6 separate regions of the Homo sapiens genome follow, and all the other regions are linked to region 2. Evidence: promoter capture Hi-C in 16 types of primary human blood cells and fetal thymus (Javierre and others, 2016). All regions are on one chromosome and are shown on one strand. The core of a region is centred on a gene start or on the middle of the fragment in contact, and the rest is flanking DNA. Distances in the headings are between cores, read along the strand shown.

Region 1 (4,659 bases), core at 1,533-4,032, 990 kb before region 2:
TCTTCTTAATACAGCCTGCTGTTGAACTCCTCCAGTGAACTTTTTAGTTCGGTTATTTTATTTTTCAGCTTCAGAACTTCTGTTTTTTATAGTTTCTGTCTCTTTATTGATATGATTCTATTCATGCATAGTTTTGCTGATTTTGTTTAGCTGTCTTTCTGAGTATTCTCTTGTAGTGCACTGAACTTTAATTTTTTTGTCTTTTCTGGCCATAGATTTCCATTTATTGTTATTTCTCTCTAGATGTTTATTTTGTTCCTTTAATTGGGCCATGTTTCCCTGTTTCTTCATGTACCTTGTTATTTTTTAATGTAATTTGTGCATTTGACAAAATAGCCACCTCTTCCAGCCTTTACGGACTGGCTTCTTACAGTGTAATAACATGTCAGTCAGCTCAGCTAGAGATTCTTGGGGCCTCTCAACCCTTTTCTGGATATCCATCTTCCCTGGGCTTGTTGGTGTATTTTCCAATTAGAAGGTTTGCTGATTTCTTCTTTATGAGCTTGTAATCTCGTGCTCTCTCTTGCATCTGTCTATGGTACTGCAGATTTTCTGGCACTGCGGCCAGCTTCTGAGCTCTCTTATTTTCTAAAGCCTTCAGTCATCCATAGTATTTCAGTTTTGTCTGTATTCCTGGTCAACTGAGACAGAAATCAGTCCCTGAACAAGCCTCCCCACAAATCCAGAACATTGCATGTACTTTTTACTCATTTCCTCCCGAGGGATAAGCAGTGAGCTGGGTGCTTTCTCTTGATTGCACTGAGCTGTGCTGGCCTTTGCCTGTGGCACTGGCAGATCTCTGCTGTTGCAACCAGCCTCTGAGCTCCTTTTTTCTCAGTAGCTCCCAGGCATTCAAAGTGTGCCAGTTTCCCATCAGTGCTCCCAGTCAGTCGAGACATAAACTAGTCCCTCAGGCAGCCCCCCTGAAAAGCTGGAATGTTAGATGTACATTCCATTCTTCTCTTTTCTTCCCAAGGGAAAAGCCATGAATTGGGCTTTTCTCCTGCAGACACTGAGCGATACTGGGTTAGGGGAAGGGCTGTCACAGTTGAGGTGAAATGGCTTTTCTTACCCATTTCAGCATGGCCATTCTTGGCATTAAGCTTGCCTATGGTCCTGTGCCTTCTTAACTGGTTTCTGGAGTTCTCATAAAAGCTTCTGGATTACAAATTGCTGTTAAGTTGATGTCTTTGTGGGGAAACTGAGGTGCGGGGCTTCCTTTTCTGCTATCTAGTCAACATCACTTCTTCATGACAAGGAGTCTTAAAATTGAGATAGCAATTTTAGGATCTTGTCTCTTCACTGAATTTTATGTGTTGTATACCTGAGGAGTTTTAGTAAATGGATTTATTGAAAACTCGAAAAATAAAGAGAGAAAAAGAAATGTGAGGAAAAGATAAAATTACAGAGTGTTTTAAGAAGTTTAATTTGTTATTGCCAAAACCAAATAATTTTAATATTTAGCTAAAGGCAATAGGGGCTAATTTAGTTAATTATGGCTCATCAATTCTGTGGAGTACTAGGCAGCCATTAAAAAATAGTTGAAATTCTGCTAAGAGGGTTGATTTTAAGTGTTTTTACCACAAAGGAAAAAAAAAAAGATAAATGGTAATGATGTGAACTGATAGATATGTTAATTAGCTTGCTTGTGATTATTTCACTATAGATATGTATATCAGATCATCAGTTGTATACCATACACACACACAATGTTTACTTGTTTGTTCCTCAGTAAAGCTGAAAAATTACAGGAAAATATATGGCTAACAAAACAAATCTATGTCTCTCCCTCTGAAACTCCACTAAAAAAAAGTATTACTTCACTGTGACAAAGACGAGAGAAGCAATGGCCACTGATGACAGTTTTCAGTAGACACTTTGGGGACTACAGTGTTTTGTTTTTTGTTTTTTTTTAAGACGGAGTCTTGCCCTGTTGCCCAGGCTGGAGTGCACTGGCATGATCTCGGCTCACTGCAACCTCCATCTCCCAGGTTCAAATTATCCTCCCGCCTCAGCTTCCCGAGTAGCTGGGCTTATAGGTGCCCGCCACCACGCCTGGCTAATTTTTATATATTCAGTAGAGACAAGGTTTTGCCATGTTGACCAGGCTGGTCTCAAAACTCCTCACCTCAAGTAATCCACCCGCCTCAGCCTCCCAAAGTGCTGGGATTACAGGCATGAGTCACTGTGCCCAGCCTGCGGTGTATTTAGATTGTGATAAATACCTAGTAAAGCAGAAGAAGCTGAAACTTGACTGCTGGGTGAAAGAGGCCCAGCAGAAGACGCCAGATCCTAGGACACTCAGGAATTTGGGGCACATGTTTGTTTGCACATGACCGTGGAACGAGCTGATGATGAAGGAATGGCTGAATGCCTGCATGTGAAACAGTAAGATCTCCATACCCCTGCCTGCCCACCACAACCAGATGTCTGCACTGCCACCCCCTGCAGTGGCAGAACTAAGAGGCTCTGACTTCAGGACATCAGGCACAACCAAGTCTGCACCGACACAGGGATAAGCGAAAACCCACATGCCACAGGAGAGCTTCAAGGCCCTCTCACCAGAGTACTCGGGAAGGCCTAGTTTCCCTCAGGCAGGAGCTGGGCTTCCCCTGTGCAGAAGATGGCCGAGCTAGCAGACAATCCTGCAGGTATGAATATCTGGGGATCTCTCAGCTACTGCATTTCTGCCCAGATCCCCACTGGGAATCCCATTACTGTGTGAACAGACTCTAGACACAGAAACATACATATTATAAACAATCAGTCATGAATTTGAGGAAGACTCAAAATATGATAAGCAGAGGCCAAGACAGAGAGCAGAAAGGATGCTGGAGGAAAGTGCGATGCATATGGCTGAAGAAAATGGAAATTAAAATGTGGTCTTGAAAAAGATATAAAGCATAAAGCATAGCTTCTGAGAGGAAAGAGAAGCTATGGTATCCAGGAAACAAGACCATGATGCTATTTTTAAAATACATAACAAGAAGGGGCTCTTGGAAATTAAAAACAAAAAACAAAAAAAAAACAGTAACTAATTTAAAAATTCATGAGTCTTACAATGGAGAAAATTTCCAAGAGGGGGGGAAATCAGAAAAAATTTAGGCAAGAGTACTCAAGAAAAAAATAGACAATTGAATTAGAATCCTCAGTGTTGAATTAATTGAAATCCCAGAGAGAAAGAAACAGAGGAAAGAAAAAGTTGAAAAGAATAACACTAAAAAATTCTGCAGAATTAAGGATATTCAGATTGCAGGGGTCAGTGAATGCCCCAGACAATGAATGAAAAGAGCCCCACCCAGCACTTGCCATCATGAAACTTCCCAGCAGGAAGGACTCAGAAGCCCCTGAGCCTGCAGAGGAAAAGCAGATACTATGCAGAAGATTGAGCCCCACTCTGGATCCGGGTGTCTCAGCTGAACAGTTCCAAACTAGGAGACAGTGGAGTAATGGCTTAGCATTTTGAGGGACAATTCTTTTCATCCTAGGTTCCTGTAGGCATCTATACTGACTGTCCAGTATAGTAGAATAAAAACATTCTTACATTTTGAAGGTCTCAAAAATCTTCCTCATACGCATCTTGTGTCAGAAAGTTGCTGGAAACTGGGAACCACTAAGATGCAGAGAATTAAAAAAAAAAAAAAAAAAAAGGCGGGGCCGGGCACAGTGGCTCATACCTGTAATCCCAGCAATTCGGGAGGCCGAGGCGGGTGCATCACTGGAGCCCAGGAGTTCAAGACCAGTCTGGCCAACATGGCAAAACCCCATCTCCACTGAAAATACAAAAATTAGCCCGGCGTGGTGGCAGTGCCTGTAGTCCCAGCTACTCAGGAGGCTGAGGCAGGAGAATCACTGGAACCCGAGATCGCGCCACTGCACTTCAGCCTGGGCGACAGAGTGAGACTCTGTCTCAAAAAAAACAAGCAACAACAACAACCAAAAAAACCCCACACAAAACAGGTGGAATATCCATAAGGATCAGAACTGAATAGAGGGAATGGGAATTTCCAGGAAATGCAATTAAAGAAAAAAGCTAGAAAACAAATCAGTTATCAGGTTCAGGGAAAACAAAAAGGTAATTTAGAAATTGTAATTATGATATACATTATACATCTCAGGAGGAGAAAATTCCTGCTGAAGAAAACTTATATTTTTCATAATTTTGATATCTACTATAACTAAATATATATAACTAAATAGTAAATATTAATTTAAATCTTTTGCTATAATTTTTTGGAAAATGGAGAGGAAAAGTATGAGTCTGTGCGTGTGTGTGTGTGTGTATGTCTCTGTGTGTGTGTGTGTGTGTTTGTGTGTATGTGTGTGTCTTAAAGAACCAAATCCTCATCTTCTGGAGTAGATGCCAATACCTAACATGGAAAAATCAAGAAACAGTACAATAAGCTTCTTATTTAGAAAAACGGAATAAATGCCAAAAAAAAAATGTGAAATGCTTACTGCTGGAGAGGGGGTGGTGGACAATAAATTGCTGGTTTTGACTCATCTTTATGGGGTTATTTACTTTCTGTTATGTCCATGTTTTATGTAAAATATATTACAGAATTTTAGAGGTATAGGAGGTGGTTATAATATACTATAACAGAAGGAAAGAAAAAAATATTTTTAGAAGAAAAAATAGTCTAGAAAAACATGCCAATT
Region 2 (4,655 bases), core at 1,145-3,644:
ATCAAGAAAGGAAGTACTAAACTCAGTAAAAGGTCTACACAGGTTTGGAATGGGGCAAGTAGAAATCAGCAATATAATATTTTATGATTTTTCTTTGATATTTGTGAAAGTCCACTGAAGAGCATACCAGTGTGTATGTAATTAATTCTGAAATGACCGTCTTTATGAGAATGTATTAGAAATAACGTGTATTTAGGTTTGTTACATCCTGAAAGTACTTATCATTTACAATTAATTGTTTCCAGGATGTACAAAGTCATTGAAAGCCTAGGACAAATTATATTGAACTCTGTCCCCAAATTGCAGGTATTACTTTTTGAAACTCTTAATAGTTAATAATAAGAGCTACTATTAATGAAATGTTTTATCAGGTTTCAGGGATTCTGCTAAGCACTTTACAAGTGTTAATTCATTTGATTCTTACAAATGTATAAAAGAAGTAAGATTATTCCTAATTTATGTATGAAGAAACTGAAAATTTTGGACTTCTTACAATCTGACATTTATTCTTTATTTTAGGTATTTTTACATAAAATGGCCCTTACTTATTATCTTACGAAGTTTCACTCTTAGGTGAGTTTTTTTTTTTTTTTAACATAAAATGACCCTTACTTATTATCTTATGAAGTTTTACTCTTAGGTGAGTTTTACAAGTAAGGATACACAGGCATAAAGAGAATAGTAACTAGCCCTGGGTCGTACAGCAACTGAGTTTTTGCCAGAGCTCAAGGCCAGACAGTCTGAGTCTAAAGCCTGTTCTCTAAACTCCTCTGTTTCACTGATTCAGGCAGTGAAATACATGGGACAGATGAGCTCTATACTTGGTTCTGACTTGGTGGTACAAAGTCTGTTAACACCATTTTAGCCCTATGTTAGCTTTGCTAAGCCATTTCTTCAACCTATAATTTCTTAGAATAATGTTTAAAAGTATTCTTCCTATAGCATTTGGCCCTTTCCTTTTCCGATGCTAAAAATGTTGATCTTTTTACATTCCTGCCTGCCAGACAGCTTTTATACAGAAAATAGTACCTGTGGCTTTCCTTTGGAGGTGTTTCTCATCATTTAGAGGAACTCCATTTACAGGAGTTCTTACAGAGAAACCACATGGTGCAGATGTCAGTAAGAGGTCATCAAACCTGCCTCCATGGCTGTGGAGCTATTTATGCAGAGTTTGCTTCATTTCAGCTTCTGTTCTTATTGGAGCCAAAAAATGTACGTTCAAGTACTTAAATTTTTCCCATTTTATTTCAATCCTTAAAACTAACTCTTTCATAATATCAGTGAATTCATTCTTTCAAAGGAGAGAGACAGATAAGGAGGATTTCTATACAATTATCAAAGTGATACATAAATTCCCCTGTGGTAAAACAAGCTTATCCATATATCTAGAATAAATAATGTTATATACTTTGTGTTAATCACTAATGAATGTTCTTTTCTTAAAGAATAAATTTTCTTTTACAAATAAGTTTATAAGGTTTATCATTCCTTTGTTTCTTATAATCTGTAATTTAAAAATAAAACCTTTTTCAGATCATTGTAATTTTGTTAATTTAACTGCCTAAATATTGAATCTTATGTCCATACTCTCTTCCCTTGAGCATTTAAAAAATAGAAAGTTCATGTCACTTCATTTACCTCCAAGTCTTGCTCTGATAGAAATGTCTGGTACTTCCCTGGAATTCCATCTCCTGTTCTGTTGCAGTTCTTCTGATAGAATTTTTTGCCTTTTTATTGTTGTTTGAAATCCTGTGTCTGGTCTGGGAACTCGATGTTGAGGTTTCACATCACTAAAATCCACTAGGGTTGGTATGGTTCTGCCAATGCCAGGATTTAAATCAGCATCACCACCAGGACTCATAAACCCTGAACAGGAATCACCTAAGGTCACATCATCCCGAAGTGGAAATAATGGATAATGTGGCCCATATGGTGGGGGATAAGGATCATGTAAATGATAGTCTGGCAAAACTGAAGGGGGATAAGGGTGAAATTTAAGAAAAGCAGGGTTGCATTTCTTTTCAAACCTGCCATAGTTATGTCTGTTCTCAAGACCTTTCACAAAAGGCATGTTCATTTTTCTTAAGAGATCACAATAGTGTGGGTAATCTATATTCTCAACAGTTCCTGAAAGGATGGACCTTTTAGAGATACTTATCTTTCCAGGTGTGTCCTGAATTTCTACATCCATGGCCTTTTTCTTTAGAATTTTTGATAACTATAAAGTATTTCTGATAATTCCTTTATATTTAACTATATAAACTCTATTGCCAATAACTAAAGATCTGTGTTAAACTAGTATAAAATTGACACAGCTTTCTAAATGTTGGCAGATAATTTTGTTTTTCTTTTTAAGGCAAATATTTTCCTCCACCAAAGGAAGAATAGGGCAATGAAGGAACATGACATAAGGAGAATAAAGCAGAGCCCTTGTTGCCTGGCAACGGCTAGAATTCTTAACACATTGAACCATTTATTATGTACATCACAATTCTTAAGAAAAACAAAAATAGCCTTGGTACTAATATTTCCATGATACTTTTCTCCCCAGTGCTCAGGAAAGCTGTGTTCATTTACTTATTTTAAAATTTTTCCATAAGTTGGTATTTTATGGGTATAAAATATATTTAAGGAGTGTAAATAAAGCAGTTAATTCAGTGACAATACATTTCTCAAAAGTATATATGTGACTACAATTAAGTATTTATATATATAACACTTGCTATCTAATTAAATGTAAATCTAAATGCACTACAAAATATAAACATTACTAAAGTTAAATTGGTACATCTAATTTTTTTTTTTTGGTGGAGTCTCACTCTGTCGCCTAGGCTGGAGTGCAGTGGTGTGATCTTGGCTCACTGCAAGCTCCGCCTCCCAGGTTCACGCCATTCTCCTGCCTCAGCCTCCCAAGCAGCTGGGACTGCAGGCGCCCGCCACCATGCCCGGCTAATTTTTTGTATTTTTAGTAGAGATGGGGTTTCACTGTGTTAGCCAGGATGGTCTCGATCTCCTGACCTTGTGATCTGCCCGCCTCGGCCTCCCAAAGTGCTGGGATTACAGGTGTGAGCCACTGTGCCCAGCCCTAGTATATCTAATTTTTAAGAAAAACAGAAAATTATAATGAAAGTACAGGTACATCTTTACATGCCCTAAATTATCTTTACTTCCCTTAAATTTGCCATGGTGTCCAGAGTAAGAACAGTAAGAGTTTTAAGTTCATTTTAGGAAACCACAATGGGTATCAGTTAACTGTCTACACACAAAATATCATTTAAATCACTAATGTATTGGTTCACTTAAAAGCTCTTTCACCTGGATAATTTCATCTTGCATGAACTACTATAAGAGGAAATGCAAATATTAGAATTTGGGGTAAAAGTTCACATCATCCTTACTGCAGCAAAAATGTTAAAACAGGCAAGATTCTAGCTTTGAAGAGTCAGGCACATAATCGTTAATCAGGCCAACTGTCAAGGGTGATATGTTTGGTACAATCAGAATGCCTATGCCCCATTGAAAGTCTTTACAATTTTGAGATATACTATTAAACAAGTGAGATTAAATTAGGTGGTTAGGCTGTCAGTTTTAAATCCTTCATCCAGATCATAGCATATCAAGTGACAGTTTTTAGTCCACCCATGATCACTCATTTCTTCATATCAAAAGTGATAACTCACTTGTAATTAGGCATTCTACATTTAGTTGCTCAAACTTCATTCTTCAATGTATTTAAACCAACTGCTTAAGATTTATTTCTATCACAGCTCTGCTCCCATTAAGTAAATCCTTCCAGCAGCAGAAAAGTAGAGGCATGAGTCTCTTTCAATTTCTCTAAAACAAGTTCTAGCTATAAATGGCCTCTTAGGCTGTGTATGGGAAAATAATAACCCCCATAACTTTGTACTTAGAATGGATCCTTTACAAGAGACAGATTAACAAGAGAAAAACAGATGTTTATTAATATATTTCATTTATATATGAGGAACACCCAGAGAATGAGTAGTTCTCAAAGAAGCGTCTTTGAATTCCAGCTTGTATAGCATCTTCAACAAAGACTAGGAAATTTTTAGAGATGTGACAAAGGAAAAGGACTCTGAGTCTCTACAGGCAGTAACTTGGGCTAAGCAAACAAATAGCAGACAAAAGATGGTTTAAAAAAAGCTAATATTAATTCCTCTGATATCATTTCAAGGCTAATGAGGGTCTGACGCTGTCTTCAGTGGTTAACCTTTGTTCTCCCTGGTAAAGGAGTGGGGCAGGATACCTTTTCTCTTTCTAATCTATGTCTTGCTTCTGGGTAAAAAGAGGGCAGGTGGACAGCTCTCCTGCATCTGCTGGTTCTTGTCTTCAGGGCAGCAATCCTTCATATTTGAGAAGGTATATTCTGGTCTCCCACACAGGATAGATGGTTTTGTATGTTTTGCTGAATTTAGGTGACACTATAAGATGATCTTCCGGTCTATTTTAGAAAGTAAATTTCATCTATGGTTATTTCCTCTGTCCTTCCATCAAGCTTCTTTCTGAGGCTAAAGGCCTTACTTACCTTTAATTCCCACTAAGTGTGTATTGCATTTATCTCCCAATTAAGTTCCACACATCCATAAAATACTATCTGCTGACATTACTAGATCAAAGCAGTCCACTGAGGGCTT
Region 3 (4,615 bases), core at 989-3,488, 620 kb before region 2:
TTATAACAAGTAAATGGTGTGTTTATTGCTCACTACTTGTTTTCTTTAGATAAAATACAAACTCCATAGGGCAGGATTGTTGCTTTAAACACTCATGTGCTGGGCATAGAGTAATTGCTTGGTAAATATTTGTTGAATGGATCAGCCTCTCTGAAGATTGACTATATTTTTCTTCTGCTTGGGTGACCAAGAGGTTGGATACTCCAAGTCTCTGAAACTCTGTGATTGGTTATCCATGACTGTGTCACCCTTGGGTAAAGATTTTGAGGGGTTCAACAAGCTTAGACATTGGACAGTAATTGCAGGACCCCTCTTGCTGCTTAAGCGCTCTTGACCCTGAGAGCTGTGAATGGCAACCTCTGCTCTCAGGGTTTCGACGGTTACAATTTCAGTATGCACGGGACTTAACGTTGGGCTCCTGGTGAACTGGGTGTTAATGTGTTTTTGAAACCTGCCCTTAATGTACAAATTACTTTGGAGTAAAGTTAGATCTGTGGTCCTCAAAAACTGAAATATTAGATGTAGAGTGCGGGTTTAAGACCCAGGCTGGAGAGTCCCTGAGTTCTATACTCTGGGATCCTCGTGTGAGAGTGAGCTCTCACTGATCTCAGTCAGTGTGCTCAGGAAGCAGCAGTGAGCAGCCTGAGCCGAGGGCGCCGCAGTGGCCGTGAGAAGAAAGTGTGGGTGGAAGTGGATGTAGAAGGCAAAATAATCAGGATCAGTAAGCAGTTCATAGGTGGATAAGGAGGAGTTGGAGGCTGACTGATTTCTGCATGGGTAACTAACCCATGCAGATGGCTGACTGGCATTCAGGGAGGTGAAGGTAATGCCAGCATTTCAGAAGAAGGACATTTCAAACCAAACTCATTTTCCCATTCCCCAAACTGGCCTCCCCTCTCTCTGTTAATTCTCCCTTGAACTGGGCACTGGGCTTCTTGATTTGAGGGAGCTTGGATCCCCTTCCCTTTCTTCCTTCCTGCTGGACACAGTTCCGCAAGCCTCCGGATCTTGCCTTGGGAATCCCCTGTCCCCTCTTTGTCCTGGCACTTAGTCAGTGGGCTGGAATTGTCTGGGCCGACTGAGTCCCTGGCCTCCTCCCTTTGCTGGGCGCCCAGGGCCCTTTGGACTCCCTGGAGTGACAGAGGAGTCTCTGCCTGGGGGGATCAGAACTGGGCCTGCTGCATGTTGAGCAGTCTGGAGTGGGGTCAAGCAAAGCATGGCCATGGCCTTGTGGTTGCGTCTCGTAGGTCCCTTCAGGAGCTGGTACCAGCACAGGGTGAACCGATCTGTGTATCTGACCATCGCTCCTCAATGGGTCCAGAGACCCCAAGAACCTCATTTCAGAGAATGAGGCCTTGGCTAAGTGGTGCTAAAAAGCAATTTCCATCTAAACACCTGGTTGATAATATGGACACAGGAGAAGATACGCTGTCTTCAGATCTACTGATAATGAACGAGGTTCCTAACTTAGGGAGAAAGTGTTTAGGTAAAGAAATGTTTTGTAGCTTCAGTGGTGGATAAGGAGGGGCCTGTTGTCATATCTGTAGATTACCTGTATCTGTGTACATTTTAAGTTTGTATTACTTGTGTTTCCACACATGGTTCAAATTTCATATTTATGTATATATACATATATATGTGACTGTGACGCATGCGCATGCACACACACACACACACTCTTCAAGCTTCTCATGTGAGTGAGTGTCTCTCCTTGCGGTGGCAGCATTAGGAGCACATGGCCTGGCAACTGCTTCCTGTGGTGGAGCCCAGTTGCCCCTGACTCCCTTGCTGTTTGTTGAAGCTGGAGCAGTAACCAGACTATTGTGCTTATAACTGCTTTTCAAGTACGTAAGAGTAGGTTCACCTCTGAGTGGAAGGAATGGTGAAGACTTTCTGTGTTTCTGTCCTTGATACCCCCTTGCAGTTGTTAGGCTGCCACAAAGTGGGAGACTGTCTCCTTGGAGTTTGAGAAGGGAGCTAGCATGTGTTTTGTGACAGGACTTTGTATACCTCATCTCACTCAGTTTTCCTACCAAACTTTTTGAAATGGGTATGATCCAAATTTGCCTACAATAAAAGTGAGGCTCAGAAACTTTGGTTGACTTATCCAGCCCGGCCAAATAGCGGGAATGCAGAAAGTGCTGGCTGCAGCCTTTATTTTCTCTGGCCCCAAACCTGAGCTCCTTCCTCCCTCCCCTCATCTGGCCTCATCATTTGGAGGTAGTTTATCGTAATCTTTTCCATCTTCCTTTTCTCTCTGTGTGCCATTCTGGATAGTTTCTATTACTATGTCTTCATAGGGTGCTCCTACCCTAGACCTCTCCAGACCACGCCAGCCGTTGGGCGAGGGAGCCTCACAGTGTGTCTTTGGAGATTGGTCACTGGGGATGGAGGGAGGGGAGAGAAGCGTGGTGTCCAATGTCTGGTTAATCCTGCCCACATATTTTTCATCTCCTGTGTTGCATTTTTCATCTGTAGGGTTGGATTTGGTCATTTTATATCTTCCACTTCTCTCCTTATCACTCATGCTTTGCTTTTCCTTCTTGAATGCACAGAGCATATTTATCTTCATCATTTTAATATATCGCCTGCTGTTTCATCTTGGACATTTCTGTATCCGTTTCTCTTGGCTGATTTCCCTTATCGTTATGGGTTTTATTTTCTTTTCATGCCTGGTACTTTTTGTTTCGATCCCAGTCATTGTAAATTTCACCTGGTTGGGTGTTGGCTACTTCTTGGGAGGGGGCTATTCTTTTAAATATTTTGGGCTTTATTCTGGAAAGAAGCTTCTTGGAAATAGTTTGACCCTTTTGAGGCTGGCTTATAAGCTTTGTTAGCTGGGCCCAGAGTCACTTTTAGTTTGGGGCTAATTTGCCCCCACTGTTGAGGCAGGACCCTTCTGAGGGCTGTCTTGTGTCCCATGCGTAAGGAAGTTTTCCATTTGGGTTGGTGGGAACACGCTTCTCTCCAGATGGCTCTGTCTCCTTCATTCTGGTGGTTCTTCCCAGTCTTGGTATTTTCCTTACATGCATGCGTCATTAATCCTCAGCTGGAGATGTGTGTGGAGAGCCCCCTCTCTTGAGCGCTCTCCTCTCTGCCTTGACCTTCCTGAGTGTTGAACTCTGTCTCCTTAGGACGATCCTAGGCTCTGCCTGGAAGGGAGATTCCCCCTCCCTGCGCTGCAGCTTGGAAGCTCTCTCCAGCCAGTGAGTGGGCACTAGTAGGGCTGCGTCATGTGGATCATGTCTCAGGAATCACTGTCCCATGCTGCCTGTTGTCAAATGTATGAAAACTGTTTCAGTTTTAGTTATTTAGGGGGAGAGGGTACATCTAATCCTTTATATTCCATATTGGCCAGAAGCTCAGAAGTCACCCATGATATTATTTTAACCGTGGTTCTAGGAGTAGATTTGCTTTGGAACATTTTTGTGGAGTGTGCAGACCCAGCTTTGGAACTCAGAAGAAGTTTAGACGTCATATGGTCCAAAAACCTGATTTTATTGGTGAGGAAATAGGCCCAGAGAGTGAAGTTATTTGCTCAGAATCATAGTTTGTCACACTGGCAGTTTGTAAACATTTGGCTCATGCCACAATAAGATTTTTCATACCTGAAGGGCGAGGTGAACTGTTTCTTATGGCCCACAGCAAGGTTGGGATCCACCAATTGTTCCTGCTGTAATGGCTGCCCGAGTTTGGTCTTACTGGGAAAAGTCACTCTTTGGCAGAGGGATTGAGTTTCCTGAGCCCTGGGATCTGTGCTGTTTATTCATTTTTATGAATAAAACGAGCTTTATCCAAAGCCTCTGGGGAGCATCACTATGAACCGCCGTCCTCTTGCCCTGCCAGCCCAGCCCTTCTGCTTGCACCTGGAAGCTGCTCCATGCCCTTCCCTGCTCCAGATCGCGCCTGCCCTTCAAAGGGCTGCCACACCTGGGAGCCCCAGGCTGGAGCTCCAGGCCAGACCTAGCTTACCTCATTCCGCCTCCAGCTTCTTGGCATTGGCTGCCATTTACCCTTGGCCCCCTGCCCTCTACCTGTGGGAGGGACTTAGAAATGAGGAAAAGCCACCACCAAGGATTCATCATATCAAACCCTGGGGCCTTTTCCTGGTCAGCCAGGACAATGAGAGTTATTTCCAAATTCTGAGATTATTGTTGAGAAAGTTCAAGGAAGAGATTTCTCTCTTCCTTCTGCTCATGGGGGAAGAATGTGGGTGTGTCATGTGCCTCCTACGGCCCTGATCTGCTAGGAGGGCAACCCTGGCTCTGTTGATCACTCTCACAGCCGCACATGGTTTGGTTCTCTGGTTTTAGTGTAGAGGTTGCTGGGGTTGTGGGACCCAGAGAGAAAACGAGAAGCTTGAAGCTGAAGAAGTTGGGTTCAGTGCAATTGCAATGGCTTTGTGCACCCCACCTGGGAGCTCAGGAGGGCTCAGGATTGCACTCCGTTTTTTGTTTTTTTTTTTGAGACAGAGTCTCGCTATGTAGCCCAGGCTGGAGTGCAGTGGTGCAATCTCGGCTCACTGCAAGCTCCGCCTCCTGGGTTCACGCCATTCCCCTGCCTTAGCCTCCTGAGTAGCTGGGACTACAGGCGCCCGCCACCACACCCGTCTAAT
Region 4 (4,763 bases), core at 1,510-4,009, 550 kb before region 2:
ATGGGCGGTGCTGCAGCACAGCACAGACTCTTCCTGCTGTGGCTACCTCCTGCTGCCCCACCACACAGTCCTCCCTCGGAGCATGCACTGGGGCCCACGGCCTAGGGCTGACAGTGCCTAGGAAGACGGTGCCTGCCTGCTGCCCGTGCCCAGGAAGATGCCTTGCTCCTCATCGTACTGGGGCCAGCTGAAGAAGGGCACAGAGGCCAGCAGGGGGGAGTGTGAAGTGGGCCCTGGTATATTGCACTCAGCAGTTGCTCACCTCCTTTGTAACCAGTTACATGAGAGGGGACAAAAATTCTTCATTGTATTCCAGTAAGATTCTAGTAGGTACCAAGAGCATAACTAGGAACAGCTTTGGGAATGTGAATTCTGACCACAGTGAATTGTGTTGTTGAGGGCAGGAATCCAAAGAAGACTGGGCCATTGGAGGATCAAGAGTGAATTATCTCCATGCTGATAATTCTGAGTCAAACTAAACCTGGTGTGCAATAAGCCAAAGGATGAGGCAAAGAAAACGAAGGGGATGGGTAAAAAGAAACATTTTGATAGAAAAATCTGCCGTCTCAGCGAAGTCTGCGTGGTGTCTGCTTTGACCAATCTCATGCTATTAAGATTTTCAGGTATTTGATCGGAGGGCTTGGTTGTTAGCAAGCAGCGGAAGTCTCAGAATCCTTCTCCTCCCACTCTGGAATGACCTGGTCTCTGGACACATACCTGGTGCATGTGGCTTGTCTCTTTCTCTGGTGACGCTGTATGGCCATCTCCCTCAAAGGCATTGTTTGTTCTTTTATTAGCAGTCAGTTCAGTGGCCCAAGTCCCTGGAAGGCGTTCTTCTCTTATTCTGTGTCCACCCTCTTTGGTGTAATTTGGAGTTCCCCTAATAAAGGACAGGTTGCTTCTATAGAAACCGAAGTTGTTCTGTAGGTGAACAACTTTTATGCCATAGAGACTAAAGAGAACCAGATTTGCCCCTGCCATAACCGTGGCCCTGATGGGAACCTAGAAGCTTGCTGCCCAGCCCACCAGGTCTCAGGTACTTAACGGGTGTCTGCAATACTAGCAGTGTGTGCTCTCATATTCTTTTATTATAGATGGTATTCCACTTACTTTTATAGATGGAGTTCTTGTTTTAATTTAGTTTTATATTGTCTCAGCCACTGAATCAGTCAGAACCCTGATTTGGAACTAGAAATACACATTATTTACATCTAGGTTTTTGAAAATTTGAAATCCAAAATTCTACCTACAATTTCCAGAATAGATCAGGGCCCTTCCAAGTGGGGACAGTACATGGAAGCCTGAGATGAAGAGGTTAGAACAGACTGAGTGGGACCTGTGTGGCTGGGCGTCCAGTGAGGGTCGTCAGCAGGGTCCAGCCCTGCCAAGAGGTTGGGTTGGATGGAAACACAGAAGAGACCATTTGGATTTGGTCTTTCAATGCTGACAGATTACCTTCTTCAAAAGAGTGGCTTTGATGTTATAAAGCTACTGTCATGAAAACCACATGGTTTGAGTTGAAGAATGGAGAGTGAAAGTTCTGTGCACTGAAGCATGTACTCAAGAGAGTCAAATACATACAAGGTTAGAATCTTGTAAAAGTGGCATCATTGTTTAATTTAATGTGCTCCGACAACTATAAACTATTTGGATGAGCAGCTGAATTAGGGCCTTATTGCACACTGTTATGGATTGAATTATGTCCCCCTCAGAATACATAAGTTGAAGTCCTAGCCCCAGTTCCTCAGAATGTAGCTTTATGTGGAAATAATGTTGCAGATGTGATTCATCAAGATGAGGTCGTACTGGAGTAGGCTGGGCTCCTTAGCCAATATGACTGGTGTCCTTTTCTAAGGGGAAATTTGGACACAAATAGACACGGGACGAGAATGCCACATAAAGATAAAGGTGGAGATTGCAGTGATGCTTCTGTAAGCCAAGGAATGACAAAGATGCCAGCAGCCGCCAGAACCTCCAGGAGAGGCCAGAAGTGGGTTCTCCCTCCAGACCTCGGGAGGATCAGACCTGCTCGCATCTTGATCATGGATTTCTGTTCTGCGAAACTGTGAGACACTGAGTTTCTGTTAAGTCATCTAGTTCATGGCATTTTGTTATGGCAGCCATGGCAAACTAATACACATACACTGAAATATTTTTAGGTTGATTAATCTGTTAATAAAAAATCAGACCGTAGGAGGAATAGAAAAATATATAGTTGAATAATTAATTGGTCCTCAGATTAAGGAATGAAACCCTAACTATTAAAGCAATAGGTAAAATCATAGTGGAAGATTGCTGGATTTGACCATGAAGAAAATTAATGCTGTAAATCAAATGTTAAACTGTTGATAAGCTGCAAAAGAATATTTGCAATATTTACATTTGCAATATCCTAAATAAAGAGCTCTTATAAATCAGTAAGAAAAAGGTAAGTCTCCTCTCTCTATCCCTTGATTTTTTTTCTCCCAGGAGATTTTCCTACTCCCAATTTATTCACTACTTTCATGAAAAAGACAACTTGTTACTCCTTTTCTTCCCCCTTCTAACTTCTCACCTGGTGTCGTAGCCTTGGGCTTAGTAGGCAGGACCTGCTCTCAATGAGAGCCACCTGCTGTGTCTACCACCTGTTTTATCCATTCCCCATCAGCACTCACCTGCCTGTCTTCCCACCCAAACAGGGGAACACATCCTTACATCTTCCCAGGGCCACCACTCCATTTGCAGCTGCCCCCTTTATCTTCTCTAGGACGTTGAGTCTGTAGTCATTGATTTTCTTTTCCTTCCTCCATGGTCAGTTTCATCCTCATTCCAGAATCATTCCTGCCTGCATGCAGACGTGCCTTGACACATCTCATCTAAGTGAAGCCCTTCTGTGGCCACATTCCTCTCTGGCTGCTGCTTCCTTTTATGCTGCTTTTCTGCAGACCTCCCAGGACCAGCTGCTTGACTCCCTGTCTCTACTTTTCCTCTCCTGGTTTCTCCCCCACCCACCTTGGTTGGCGCTCTGTTCTACTAGGTGCCTGAAATGGGTCTCATCAAGGGGCCTTGTGGCCTGCCTCTAGTTAAGATCAGTGGCCAGTTGGGGGTGGCATCTCAGCAGCATGTGACACAGCTTTGATTCCTAGAAACTTGCTTCCCTAAGTGTTTTCGACCCCAGCTTGTGATCTCTTCATCTCTCTGCTCCTTCATCCCTTCGCTGTCTCCTGCTCTGCCAGGCTGCTTGGTGTTTGGAGGCCCGCAAGCCTCTGTCCTCAGCCTCCCCCACTCTAGTGGTCTTCTCTCTGAGAGACTGCATCTGGCCCCATGCCGTCAGATGCCATCTCTCTGCTCATGACCCAGATCTATAACCAGGACAAGTCACCACTGAAAGGTACCCTCCGTCTTCACTTGGGTCTCTAGTTGCCATGTGAAATTTAACAAAAGAAAATATAGTCGAAGCACACCAAGGCCTCCTCACCTAACTAAAAGGGGTCATTGTCCGCTCAGTTGCTGTGGCCAAGGAAGAGGAGCATATCCTTGATTCCCCCTTTGGACTCAGGTACAAATCCAGTCAACTCTCCCTCTCCAATGTGTCCCATATCCAGTGCTTCCTGTCCTCTCCACCATGCCATCTCCAGTCCCAGCCTGGGACGACACAGCAGCCTGTCTCCTGCTCACCTCACCTTGCCTCATATCATCCACAGCCCAGCAGCTCTTGTATGATTTCTAGAGAGTCATTTGAATCCCACTGTTCTCCCATCACACCCAGAATTAAATCCAAGCTCTCCCCTGTGGGGTGTACAGTCCCGTTCTCCATTCCCTCCCCCGTGTGTGTCGTCACTGTGTTCTAGCTGCCCTGGCCTTCTTGGTCCCTCACATTTGCCAGCTCAGGTCCACCTCTGTGCATTTCCCCTGTGGCGTCTCCACACAGAGGCTCTTTCCTGAGACCTTTTCTTCACTGCCACTTGGTCATCATTCAGGTGTCAGTTCAAATATCTCTTCCTCTGGGCCTTCCTGGGCTTCTTTGGAAAAGGCAGTGCCCCTGGCCAGCCTCCCTCTGACACAGCACTTGCTTGTGGTCTCCGTGTTGTTCACTGTCTCCTGAGATTATTTTGTTTGTTCTCTGTTTTACCACTAGAACGTCAGTCCCCCAGAACAGGGACAGGGTCTCTTATTCACTGCTCTGTCCACACCTCCGAGAATGGAGCCCAGCACATCCCAGGCAGACGAGTACAAGGACGATGGCCTTGTTTTTATAGAAGTTCTGGATGCTCCTCTAGGGGGATGGTCGCCCTTGCTTTGGCAGAGCCAGGATCAGAACCCAGCTCCCCAACATGGGTTTCTTACCCCCAAGTCCCGTGGCCACTCAGGAGCAGGAAGAAGAGGCAGCTGACCTTAACCAATGCATCCATCAGGAGCTAGCCCGACCACATTGAGTAGGTCTGAGGCCTGGGAGTCCCACCCAGAATATTTACTTTGTCCTCTCCTAGTGGAGCGGGAGAGCTGAGAAGATTGCTCTCAAAAGCTTCAAAGAAAAGGACCTGGGACTACTTCAAACAATAAGTCCATTGTTATGTCTCAGTGACCTTGATGACCTCCAGAAGTAGTGTTCTGGGCTCACAGCACACTGCCCTGAAGAAGGGAAACTCTGGAAGCCCAGAGGGAGTAGCTGTAGGAGGGATGTGGTCAACTGGAAAGTCCCCAGGCGTTCTATGGGAGGGGGACCTATGCTCTGCCATCCTTGGGCTGGCAGAGGACTTGGGATAAGGATTCCCAAAGGCAAA
Region 5 (4,576 bases), core at 2,003-4,502, 650 kb before region 2:
ATGCCACTATCTTCAGTATTTCCTAATTTAGCCAGAGAGTTTACTTTAGCATCTAGAAAGTGTGATTAACTACTTTAGCGTTTAGAAAGAGTGATTAACTTTTTGAGGCCTTTAAAAAGTTTTCTTTAGGTAAAAAGATGTCTTCTGTGAGTTATTTGGGTTTTATTATAGGGACAAATGGTTTACCATCTAATATTGATTGGAATGACTTTGGAGCGCATTTAGTTTATAAAGTGTTTAAATCCAAGGGCTGTTTTATAGAGCATCTTTTATTTTTCGGATAAAGTTCTAGCCGTTTTCCCAACAGTTATGAAATTCACTATTTTTAGGCGGCAAAGACAGATCTGAGTGGTTTTGCTTTTCCTTCCCGTTGGCTTTATCTATTCCCAAAGGAAGACAGTGCTTCCGGACCAGTGGGGGTTATAGTTGGTAATGTGTTGTCATGGCAATTGTTCCCCTCTTTGTCTTAATTGATTTGGTGTCTTAATTTTTGTTTCTCTTTTTATAGTTTAAATGTACAAAGATCTATTCCTTGGAAGACACCCAAAGGCATTCGGTAATTTGTAAGAATTTGTAAAATTCAAGTATCAAGGATTCCAAAGGTAGAAACAAATCTTTAATGAATTTAGAAAAATATTAATATATCAGAGAACAATAAGTTCTTTTAAAAGGAACCCAATTTTAAATCTATATTTAAGTAATACGCATTGCAAATTTAAAATTACAGTTGACTCTTGAACAACATGGATTTGAACTGTGTGAGTCTATTTATATGTGGAGTTTTTTTCAGTAATTACTAGAAAATTTTTTTGAGATTTGCAACAGTTTGAAAAATCTTACAGCATAGCCGAGAAATACCAAAAAAATTAAGAAAAGGCTATGTCATGAATGCATAAAATATATGTAGAAGACTAGGCTGTTACTCTAAAATATATACAAATCATAAAAAAGTTAAAGTTTGTCAAAACTTACACAAACACAGACCATACATGGAGCCATTTGTTGACAGAAATGTAAAAAAACCCATGAAGGTGCTGTATGAAATCATCACTGCATAGAATTAACTGTAGTACATACTGCACTTAATTTCATAGTTATGAAAATTACTGTACTACTGTAATAATTCCACTGTTGCTGTGAGCTCAAATGTTGCAAGTATACGCTTTAAATGCCATGTGATGCTAATCATCTCCATGTGAGAAGCTCCCATCCCAGTAAATTGCTCATTGCATTAAAAAGTGACCTCTCGTGGGTCTTGTGTATTTTTCATGTTTAATGCAATACCGTAAACTTTGAATAACACAGGGGACCCATACTAGTGAAACTGGAAGTGCTCCCAAAGAGCTTACTTTATTCTAAGAATACAGTATGTAATAACTATATGACATACAACATGTGCGTTAATGACTTTCTGTTATTGATAAAGCTTCTAGTCAACAGTAGGTCATTAGTAGGTAAGTTTTTGGGGAGTAAAAAATTATACATGAACTTTTAACTGCATGGGATGTTCGTGCTCCAACTCCTACCTTGTTCAGTGCTCAGCTGTGTAATGTTTATTCTTCTCTCCCCATCCTTCTCCATGCCAATATTCCCAGGGTGCATAAAGGTAGGATGCTTTGATCTCTGGAGCACCTGATACTGCTCCCTCCCTGCCGTCCTTTTCTTTGACTCCAGCCTGCCGGCCTGTGATGGTTCTACGCGGTTTCTTTTCTTTTCCATGAAGTCCTGTGGTCGTGGTGTTGCAGCGCCTGCGTCCTAATCTCTACGATTGAGGCAGTACTCTGACCTGTTCCACAGTGTGTCTAGACTTCATTGTGCACATGGGTTCCTCTTCTCTGCACATGCCTACCACAGAGCAGGGGTATCCACTCTCGGTGAATGCGGCTTGAGAAGGCTGCATGTGGAGGTGGCCTTCATCACCCCACCTCTTTTCAGGGCTAGAAAATTGGTGTTTTCCTCTGGTGAGGCTTTTAGGATGGAGGGATTCGAGGACCTCCTGCCTGTGGATAGCCTAGGCTGTTTTCTGTGGTTACCTTTGCTCAAGTTTTCTGTTGACTTTCTGGGTCTCAGATCAGTTGGATCACTGCATTAACAGTCCTGCCCTGGGCATTCATGTCTGTGTGTGGACCACAGCACGGCAAAAGGGAAGACCTTCTCTCTGACACCAGTGCTAGTGGTGAGGGTGCCTAGAAAGTGAAAATTAGTTTCTGGTGTCGGCCTCTCCTGGTTCTCCTGAGTAGGATCTTGCTGTTGGGGTTCTGTGCTGTCCCCTTCAGGACTCAGGCTCTGGATTTGCGGAGAGCATATCTCAAATTAACTATGCAGCTGTGCAACAGGAGTAACTGCTGGCCAAGTTACTTGGATTCTTTCTCATCGGTTGAGTGGGGATGCTGCTAGTGTGTCTGCACAGGTTTCTTGAGGGGACTTGATGCTTCCCACAAATGACAGTAGGGATGTGGCCACCGTAAAGTGGTGCTGTGCTTCGCAGCACTGCGTGATCTGACCCACGCTTACGTTTCAAAGCCATTGAAACAGATTCAAGATCATGTATTGATTTAAAAAATTTACTCTTTTCTGTCGGGAGGCTGACCAGACTACTGAAGTGGAAGGAACTGTAGATGCTTGAATAGAATATGCCACACAAGTCTTTTTCAAACTGCTGAGAATAAAAAATCAAAGGTCATCCTCATACCTATGGTCACATATAGACCCTTGTACCTAATAATGTGCAGTTGGAAGCAATGAGGTCATGCTTTGCTGCAGATAATTAAAATAGCTCTTGAATCTGTCCCTTCTCCCCCTTCTCCCATCAATGCATTGTGGAAGAAAAGCGGAAATTGGTGTTCTAAAAGGCATTCTTTGTATTTGCATATGCCAAAAAACCCAAGAGTTATTATTTTTTTTAAAGGCAGGAAGCAGAACAGGTACAGCTTTTAGTTAGGGATCTAGTACTTAGGATTCAGTTAGGGCATTTTGAGGAACCGAGTATAGTTTTTACTTCAAGCAGTGTAGTAGCAGCAGTTTCCCCCTTCCCAGCCCCCAGGAAGTGAGATATGATTCTTCAAAGCGTTACTGAATTTTTTCCCCAATATTTTCCCCCTGCAGACATCATAGAAACCAACAGTAATTTAAAGAAAAGAGTGGTGGTGCTTACCTTTGGAAACAGCTGAGGAGCTTTTAACACTATTACCCCCCACCCCCTCCCCATCCCCGAGATTCATTTTCCTTGGTCTGGGATGCAGCCTGGGCATGCAGAGTCTTCCCCTTTCCCCCTAGTGATGTAATATGCAGTCCAGTAGTTGGGACTATGTCAGCAGTAGAATCATGCAAGGGCTTGCAGAAACACATGTTATGGGACCACACCCCCTCCACTGAGTTTCTGGTTTAGTAGGTCAGGGTCTGGGCTCCAGAATTTGTGTGTTAACAAGCACCCGGGTGATGCCCATGCTGTATGTCCGGGGACCATCATTTGAAAACCCTAGGACTTGTAGGATCCTGGTTAAGAGCATGGACTCCTGCACTGAGCTTCGTCTCCTTCATTGAGTCCCATCACCAGCCCTTGGCCTTCATCTCAGCACTTCATTTTCTTGTTGTGATCAGTGGGAATGGATGCCGTGTATGTGTGTGTGTGTGTGTGTGTGTGTGTGTGTGTGTGTGTGTGTGCGCGCGCGCGTGCGCGTGTGTTTACACATAGACAAATACATAAAAAGCACTGAGCCAAGTGCCTGTTATTAACAGGTGCTTCAGAATCTTTCTTTCCTTCCCTTGACAAATTATGGTCATTGATTGGTTCTTCCATCCAAGTCCATTCACTTTCTTTATATTGGTAGGTGGGTGGAGTTTGGGTTTTACTCAGTTTCATCTTCACTGTTTATATTTTAAGTGTTTTTACTTTAGATGATTCTGATTTGGGTTTTTTTTTTTGTAAAAATTAAAATTTCAGTAATGTTCAAAATTTATTTCTTTACTGGTGTGCATAAAAATTACTGTGTGATTAAAAATCATTGTATTTCATTGTTTAAAATTTTGTATGTTTTTTTGACTATACATTTAAGAGATTTGTCTTTTATTATATTTCTTGGATTTCAATTTTGTCATGCTTTGCTTTCCGATTTTTGACTGTATATTTCCCTCTTTCTGGTTCAAGATGGATGGGTTGGTGTTCATTTATTTTGTCTTTATAAAATATGCATTTCATGGCATGAGTTTTTCTTCTTTTATTTCTCTTGCTTCATTTTATTTGTCTTGACACATGGGGGTGTGCATTGTCCTAATTGTCTAGGACTGTATTGTATCTTTATTTCCTCCTTGAACCACTTATTTAGGCCAGAGCTTGTTTTTAATTTTCAAGTGCCTTCGTTTTTTTTTTTTTTTTTTTTTTTTAAACACATGTTCCTAATTTCTGGTTTTCTTTATTTGGATGTAGCATGGAGCCCCTTGGCACATTGGCCTACGGTCCCTGTCTCAGTGCTGGACATTTGGGGTCCTGTCTGCAGCTGCATGCAGGCTGGGAGGAGGCAGCATGTAACAGGTTTTTCCTTGGGGCCGTGTTCTGCAACTCCAGAGATCTTTGCAT
Region 6 (4,925 bases), core at 627-3,126, 690 kb before region 2:
CTGATCCATTCAGCCCCTGGCTGGTATTTAATTTGTGTGAATATTTTAGCTGCACACTTTTAGGGAGCTGTATCTGTTTTCACTCCTTGTTCCTCTTGGCTGGGACACCTTTGCATCAGACTCCCACCCCCAACCTGGACCACTTCTGAACTGATCTCTGAGAAATGAGCTTTCCTGCACTTTTGTCTTCTGGAGGCTTTTGTCCATGCTCCTGGTGATCACAGGGCCTGCTAACTGCAGGGAGATAAAAGCAGTCAAAGCTTAAAACCACCCGCTTACTCGTGGAAAGGCAGGCTGATGGCTCTTCTTTAATAATGGATTGAAAAATGGTGTGATTGTCCTTTGAGATGGCAACAGAAGAAGCCATTTCCTGGGGTTATCAAAAATAATCTCAGAGGTAGAAATGAGTGGTTCTGATTTTTTTGCTTTTAGGATATAGTGACTCTAAGGAGATTTTTTCTTTTCCCCTGTATTAGAATATTCATATTTTTGAACCATCTACTTTACATATGGATTTCTGGGGAGATTCTTCTAGTCTTTTCAGATCCCTAATTTGAGGGGCTTATTATTTGGGCTGGACCCAGCAACAGAGTGGACTTTTTGTTGTTAACGTCAAGCCTGAGAACGGGCGCTGGGGAGGAATAACCCCTCCCACCATATCGTTTCTTTTCTGCTCTATTTGACCAGGGCAGCAGGCACACTGCCTCAGTTGACTCCTGGTTGTACTACTTACTAGTTTGGCCAGGCTGAACAAGTGAACCAACTTGATCCGTTAAAATGGAAGCCATAGGCGTGTTTATCCCCACGGCTTGTTGGGAAGGTAGCACGAGGTGTGATGTGTGTGATTGGCACGATGCAGAGCTCATGCAGTCTTTGTGGCGATGTCTGTAGGCACTTTGCCGTCAGCCTTGTCTTAGAGCAGTTTGTGGACTTGATATCCTGCTTGCTATTAATTTATAAGGTTGGTTAGAAAGGGGACTTGGCTTTTGTATTTTTGTCTTCCAGTGCTTTGTACATGCTAGTTGCACAAAATCTTGTTTGAATTTATCTGAATGTTCTTTGAGCCACAGTCAGTGCTCAGAAGAATCCTTTTGTTGACTGTGTTTAGCGTGACAGTTTGAACTCCTCACAGGTAGAATTCTAAGAGCAAAGATAGCTGGTGTACTGCAGACTTCACTTGGCTGCAAACCATTTGAACCAGATAATAGTGAATAGCAGGTGTCAAAAATTGGTTTCCTTCAACCAGGAGCAGAAGTTGTGAAGACCCCTGCAGTGCGTAAGCTCTGATGGGCAGCAGCATTGGGTGTGGAGACAGATCTCTGGTCTCCAGGCCTGTGGAGCCTGTGGCATTTGTCTTCAGGCCCCCACGGTTGGTGTCTGGACTCTTACAGAGGCACTTATCCTAGCTGGGACTGAAATGACTGTGGACCGCTTATCCTGGTCAGGCTGATGTGCCCCTGGGATGTGGCTCCGAGCTCTATCCAGGGCTGTGCTAGTGGGCAGTCCTGCTTCTCCCTGAAGTTCTTGAAAGGTTTTGTATTAGGTAAATGGAACTGGGCATGAACAGTGGCAGTCTTGCCTATTAACATGGGTTTCCCAAAGTACTTGGCACTTTGGCGTGTGTTGGTCCTCATCATTGTGTCATTAAGGTCACTAGAGCTAATGTGGGGTTGGGGGCTGGGATCCTCATGTGCTGGGTCAGTGCAGGTGGCACTGCGTTGGGGACTGCTCTCTGTCTGGTCCTGTCTGTGAGCTGTCAGGGGTCTCACTCTGGGAGCTCCAAGGGGACGTCTGAGCAATAGAGGACCATGAGGGATAGCTGAAGACCCGCTTTCTACCTTCTCTTGTCCTTTCACATGGGAGTCGAGGGTCAGGAACCTCCAAGGCTGCTCACTGCAAGCTACCTGGGCCCCACTGAGATGGCAGGTCCCCACTTCTCTGATGTGCAGGGCCTTTAGTTTACTTATTTGATTTTTAACTTTCATCCCTGGGAGTATTTAGGCAGTGGCTTCCAGCCTTTTGTAAGTGAAGAGTTCCCTTTAGTATAAAAACCTTTATAATACCACATACCTCATAGAATAATTTTTGGATTCCCTGCTTTGAGAAGCTACCATGAATTGAGTAACTTTTAAATTCAGAAGTTTGTACCACAGCTTCCTGCCCAGGGACAGTGCCTGGTGCTGAGCCTGGGGCCCTGCTTGAGATCGCTGTTCCTAGACGGTCTTCACATCCTGTGGGAAGTTGAGCTGGCTGGGTCATGTTCAGTGCCCTCTAATTGTCCCGTATGGGCTGATTTGAGCCAGAGGGCACCTCCCCCGCCCATCTTTTCACCCTGGCCACACCACCCTGGCCCAGGACAGGCTGCAGGGGTGTTACCTGAGCTTCCAGGTGTCTGTTCTAGGGTACCGCACTCCCTCTTCTGAAGAAAATCACGTGCATCTCACAGAATCCCCTCCAGAGAGGAGAACGTTGAGTGTCTTGGCCTGCGATCCTAGTGAGGTGATGGAGCGACGCAGGAGGGATAAGTCAGGAGGGCTTCCTAGTGTCATTGTCGCCTCATCTCTCCATCACAGGTCTCCCCGGCCTTCTCCCCACCTAGGCCTGCAGGGCAGTGAGTGGACACAGGCTGTCCCTGTCCTGACCCACCGTCCCTGCCCAGGGCACTGTCCCCCTGCTGTCCTTGCCTGTCCATATCACACAGTGTTTCTGTTCTCTTCGTCTGAAGGGTCACCTGGTTTCCTAATTCCTCAACACCCAGAGCAAACTATTTTAAAATTTAGTTTGGATTTTTAAAATCAGAGTGATATGTAGACATAGGTTAAAGATGAAATAATTCCCCAGAAGTAACTTATCAGCAGATTTTTTTCTGTACGTACTTCCATATTTCTGAAGAGGTCTAGACAATAGATTGCGATTCCTGGCAACCTCCTCCTCCTCCTCCTCCTCCTCCTGCTCTCCAGAGCCCCATTTTTCATGTGATTCTTGATTTCAAACTCCATGGAAGGTGAGGATGATGCCCTTTGTCCCATCCCCACCCTACACTCACTCTTGTCTCTTCATCGTCTCTTCTGGTCCATTCAGCTCCATCAGTATGCAGTGTTGGGATGGTCCCCTAATGCTGCTCATAGCTGAGCCATGTAGTATACTGTGATAACTGTGATTTTCTCCTAGGACATTTTGTTTTCTCCTGGAGTTGTTTTTGCCTAGTTTTTAAAATGTACTTACCATTCTTCCCTCCAAACTTACAGAGTTGTGTGAATCTCTTTTCCAAGGCCTAAGGTGATCTGCAGTTTTATCTTTGGAAGCAGTTCCTTGTGTGCCTTTCTGCTTTCAGCAGGCTGGGTTGCTCTGAGGCTCCCTGCACAGCTGTTGTCTTGGAGTCTTTCTTCTCCATTGTCCCAGGAATGCCCCTTTGCCTTTCTCTTGGATCTCATGACTTTTCTTCTTGGTTTATTTCCAAAATTTGATGGAGTACTTTCTATAGAAGCTTCCAAAAAGTGGTGCACAAGATGTCAACTTTTTGAGACCTTGCATGTCTGGGAAAATGTCCATCTACTCTCACAGTTTACGGTTTGTCTGAATATGGATTTCTAAATTAAAGATAGTTTTCCCTAAAACATTTAGAGGCTTCCATTGCCTTTAGGCAGAATGGGGTTGAGAAAGAAGCTCTTCTGATTCTTGATTCTGTGTATGAAAGAGTACCAGAGTGGTTTTTTGGTTTGTTTTTTGTTTTGTTTTGTCATGTCTGGACACTTGTAGGATATTCTCTGTGCCTTTGTTCCGAAGTTCCTTGAAGATGAGTCTTGTTGGGTCTCCACTTTGTGTGTGGGGTATGTTGAGGGCCCATTGAAGCTGGAATCTCAGATCTTTCTGGTCTTGGACATGTTTTTGAATTAATCCTTTCATTTCTTTTCTTCCATTTTCCTCTTCTCTCTTTCTAGGATGGCAGTTATTTGGTTTTTAGCCACCTGGATTGGTTCTCTGTATTTTTTATCTAATAGTCTGTGTCTGTTGTGTTGTTTTTAGGTTTTGGGATATGTCCTCAATTTGACCTTTTAACTTTTCTGTTGGATTTTGTTTCTATTTTCATTTTGAATTTCTTAGGATCTCTCTCTATATATATATTTATATTCTTTTTAAAAAACAGACTTTAGAGCAGTTTCAGGTTTACAGCAAAACTGAATGGAAGGTCCAGAGATTTCCTACATGCCCTCTGCCCCACACACGCACAGCCTCTCCCACTACTGGGAATCCTGTACATTTGTTACAGTTGACTATTGACACATTATTGACATTCAAAGTGAGTATTCTTTTTTTAATGGCATAATATTCTTATTTCATAGATACGTCTATCTCATTTGTAGATATTAATTTTTAAAAACTTTTTGTGTATCGTTTCTTCTCTCCCATTTGTAAATGATTTACTTTTAATTTTTCTGTTTGTTTGTGTCCAGCTTACCCGGAAAGCAGAGCCTATGGCAAAGCCTTCTGTGCTTCTATTGTAGGAGGGTGTGCCAGCCTGGTGGAGGGAGGCTGGAAGGAGGGAACCTGGGTGCAGGGTGAGGCGGGGTGCCCGCGGTGGGCAGTGCCTAGAATTGAGTGAAGCCAATGGTTCCACATGTGGGGCTGGCTTGTGTCACGAGCTCCCAGTCCTCCAGACAGTGCTGGGAAGGGGTTGGGGTGGAGGATGTATCTCCTGTCAGTGCCCGTCACCATGGGCCAGGGTTGCATCTGGGCTACATCCCTGCAGGTGCTGGGTGTACAGGCTCTTCAGAGCCCTGGTAGGAGGAGGCTGTGCTGCAGGACATAGGGGTCCCATCAGATGCGGCTCAATAGAGCTGTGGACAGGGCCCAGGGAGGTGAGGCATAGGAAGTGTTTGTCCCATGCAATTTGGCCACATCTTTCACCTTAGAGGCTTCGCTTA

What was found. Contacts are between HindIII fragments. The CHiCAGO score rates a contact against its expected background, and 5 or more counts as called.
Region 1: a contact is called between a fragment that was not itself captured here and the fragment with the promoter of SPMIP7 in region 2, in 1 of 17 cell types (M2 macrophages). The highest score is 5.0, in M2 macrophages.
Region 3: a contact is called between a fragment that was not itself captured here and the fragment with the promoter of SPMIP7 in region 2, in 8 of 17 cell types (naive CD4 T cells, naive CD8 T cells, activated CD4 T cells and 5 more). The highest score is 8.9, in naive CD4 T cells.
Region 4: a fragment that was not itself captured here is called in contact with the fragment with the promoter of SPMIP7 in region 2 in 8 of 17 cell types (activated CD4 T cells, naive CD8 T cells, non-activated CD4 T cells and 5 more); the score reaches 9.9 in activated CD4 T cells.
Region 5: a fragment that was not itself captured here is called in contact with the fragment with the promoter of SPMIP7 in region 2 in 4 of 17 cell types (naive CD4 T cells, total CD8 T cells, fetal thymus and 1 more); the score reaches 7.5 in naive CD4 T cells.
Region 6: a fragment that was not itself captured here is called in contact with the fragment with the promoter of SPMIP7 in region 2 in 2 of 17 cell types (non-activated CD4 T cells and activated CD4 T cells); the score reaches 6.8 in non-activated CD4 T cells.

Annotation. Positions count from the first base shown.
Region 1 is chr7:51,086,770-51,091,428 of GRCh38, reverse strand. All of the region lies in intron 6 of COBL (cordon-bleu WH2 repeat protein), which reads left to right. Among named protein-coding and RNA genes, the nearest start is that of COBL, 230 kb to the left of the region's middle. The HindIII fragment of the contact is 3,249 bases long and covers 1,158-4,406 here.
Region 2 is chr7:50,093,622-50,098,276 of GRCh38, reverse strand. SPMIP7 (sperm microtubule inner protein 7) reads right to left here and starts at 2,394. Exons shown (of 9, transcript NM_001161834.3): 1 at 1,639-2,394. The coding sequence starts at 2,191. It overlaps LOC124901630 (a long non-coding RNA gene), which reads right to left. Exons shown (of 2, transcript XR_007060321.1): 1 at 4,547-4,655; 2 at 3,936-4,462. The HindIII fragment of the contact is 3,144 bases long and covers 1,375-4,518 here.
Region 3 is chr7:50,714,513-50,719,127 of GRCh38, reverse strand. All of the region lies in intron 4 of GRB10 (growth factor receptor bound protein 10), which reads left to right. Among named protein-coding and RNA genes, the nearest start is that of GRB10, 66 kb to the left of the region's middle. RefSeq lists an enhancer at 3,403-3,918. The HindIII fragment of the contact is 1,101 bases long and covers 1,688-2,788 here.
Region 4 is chr7:50,648,551-50,653,313 of GRCh38, reverse strand. All of the region lies in intron 7 of GRB10 (growth factor receptor bound protein 10), which reads left to right. Among named protein-coding and RNA genes, the nearest start is that of DDC, 86 kb to the right of the region's middle. RefSeq lists an enhancer at 1-427. The HindIII fragment of the contact is 3,495 bases long and covers 1,012-4,506 here.
Region 5 is chr7:50,741,359-50,745,934 of GRCh38, reverse strand. All of the region lies in intron 3 of GRB10 (growth factor receptor bound protein 10), which reads left to right. Among named protein-coding and RNA genes, the nearest start is that of GRB10, 39 kb to the left of the region's middle. The HindIII fragment of the contact is 3,648 bases long and covers 1,429-4,576 here.
Region 6 is chr7:50,785,295-50,790,219 of GRCh38, reverse strand. It overlaps a transcript of GRB10 not described here. Among named protein-coding and RNA genes, the nearest start is that of GRB10, 4.9 kb to the right of the region's middle. The HindIII fragment of the contact is 3,227 bases long and covers 263-3,489 here.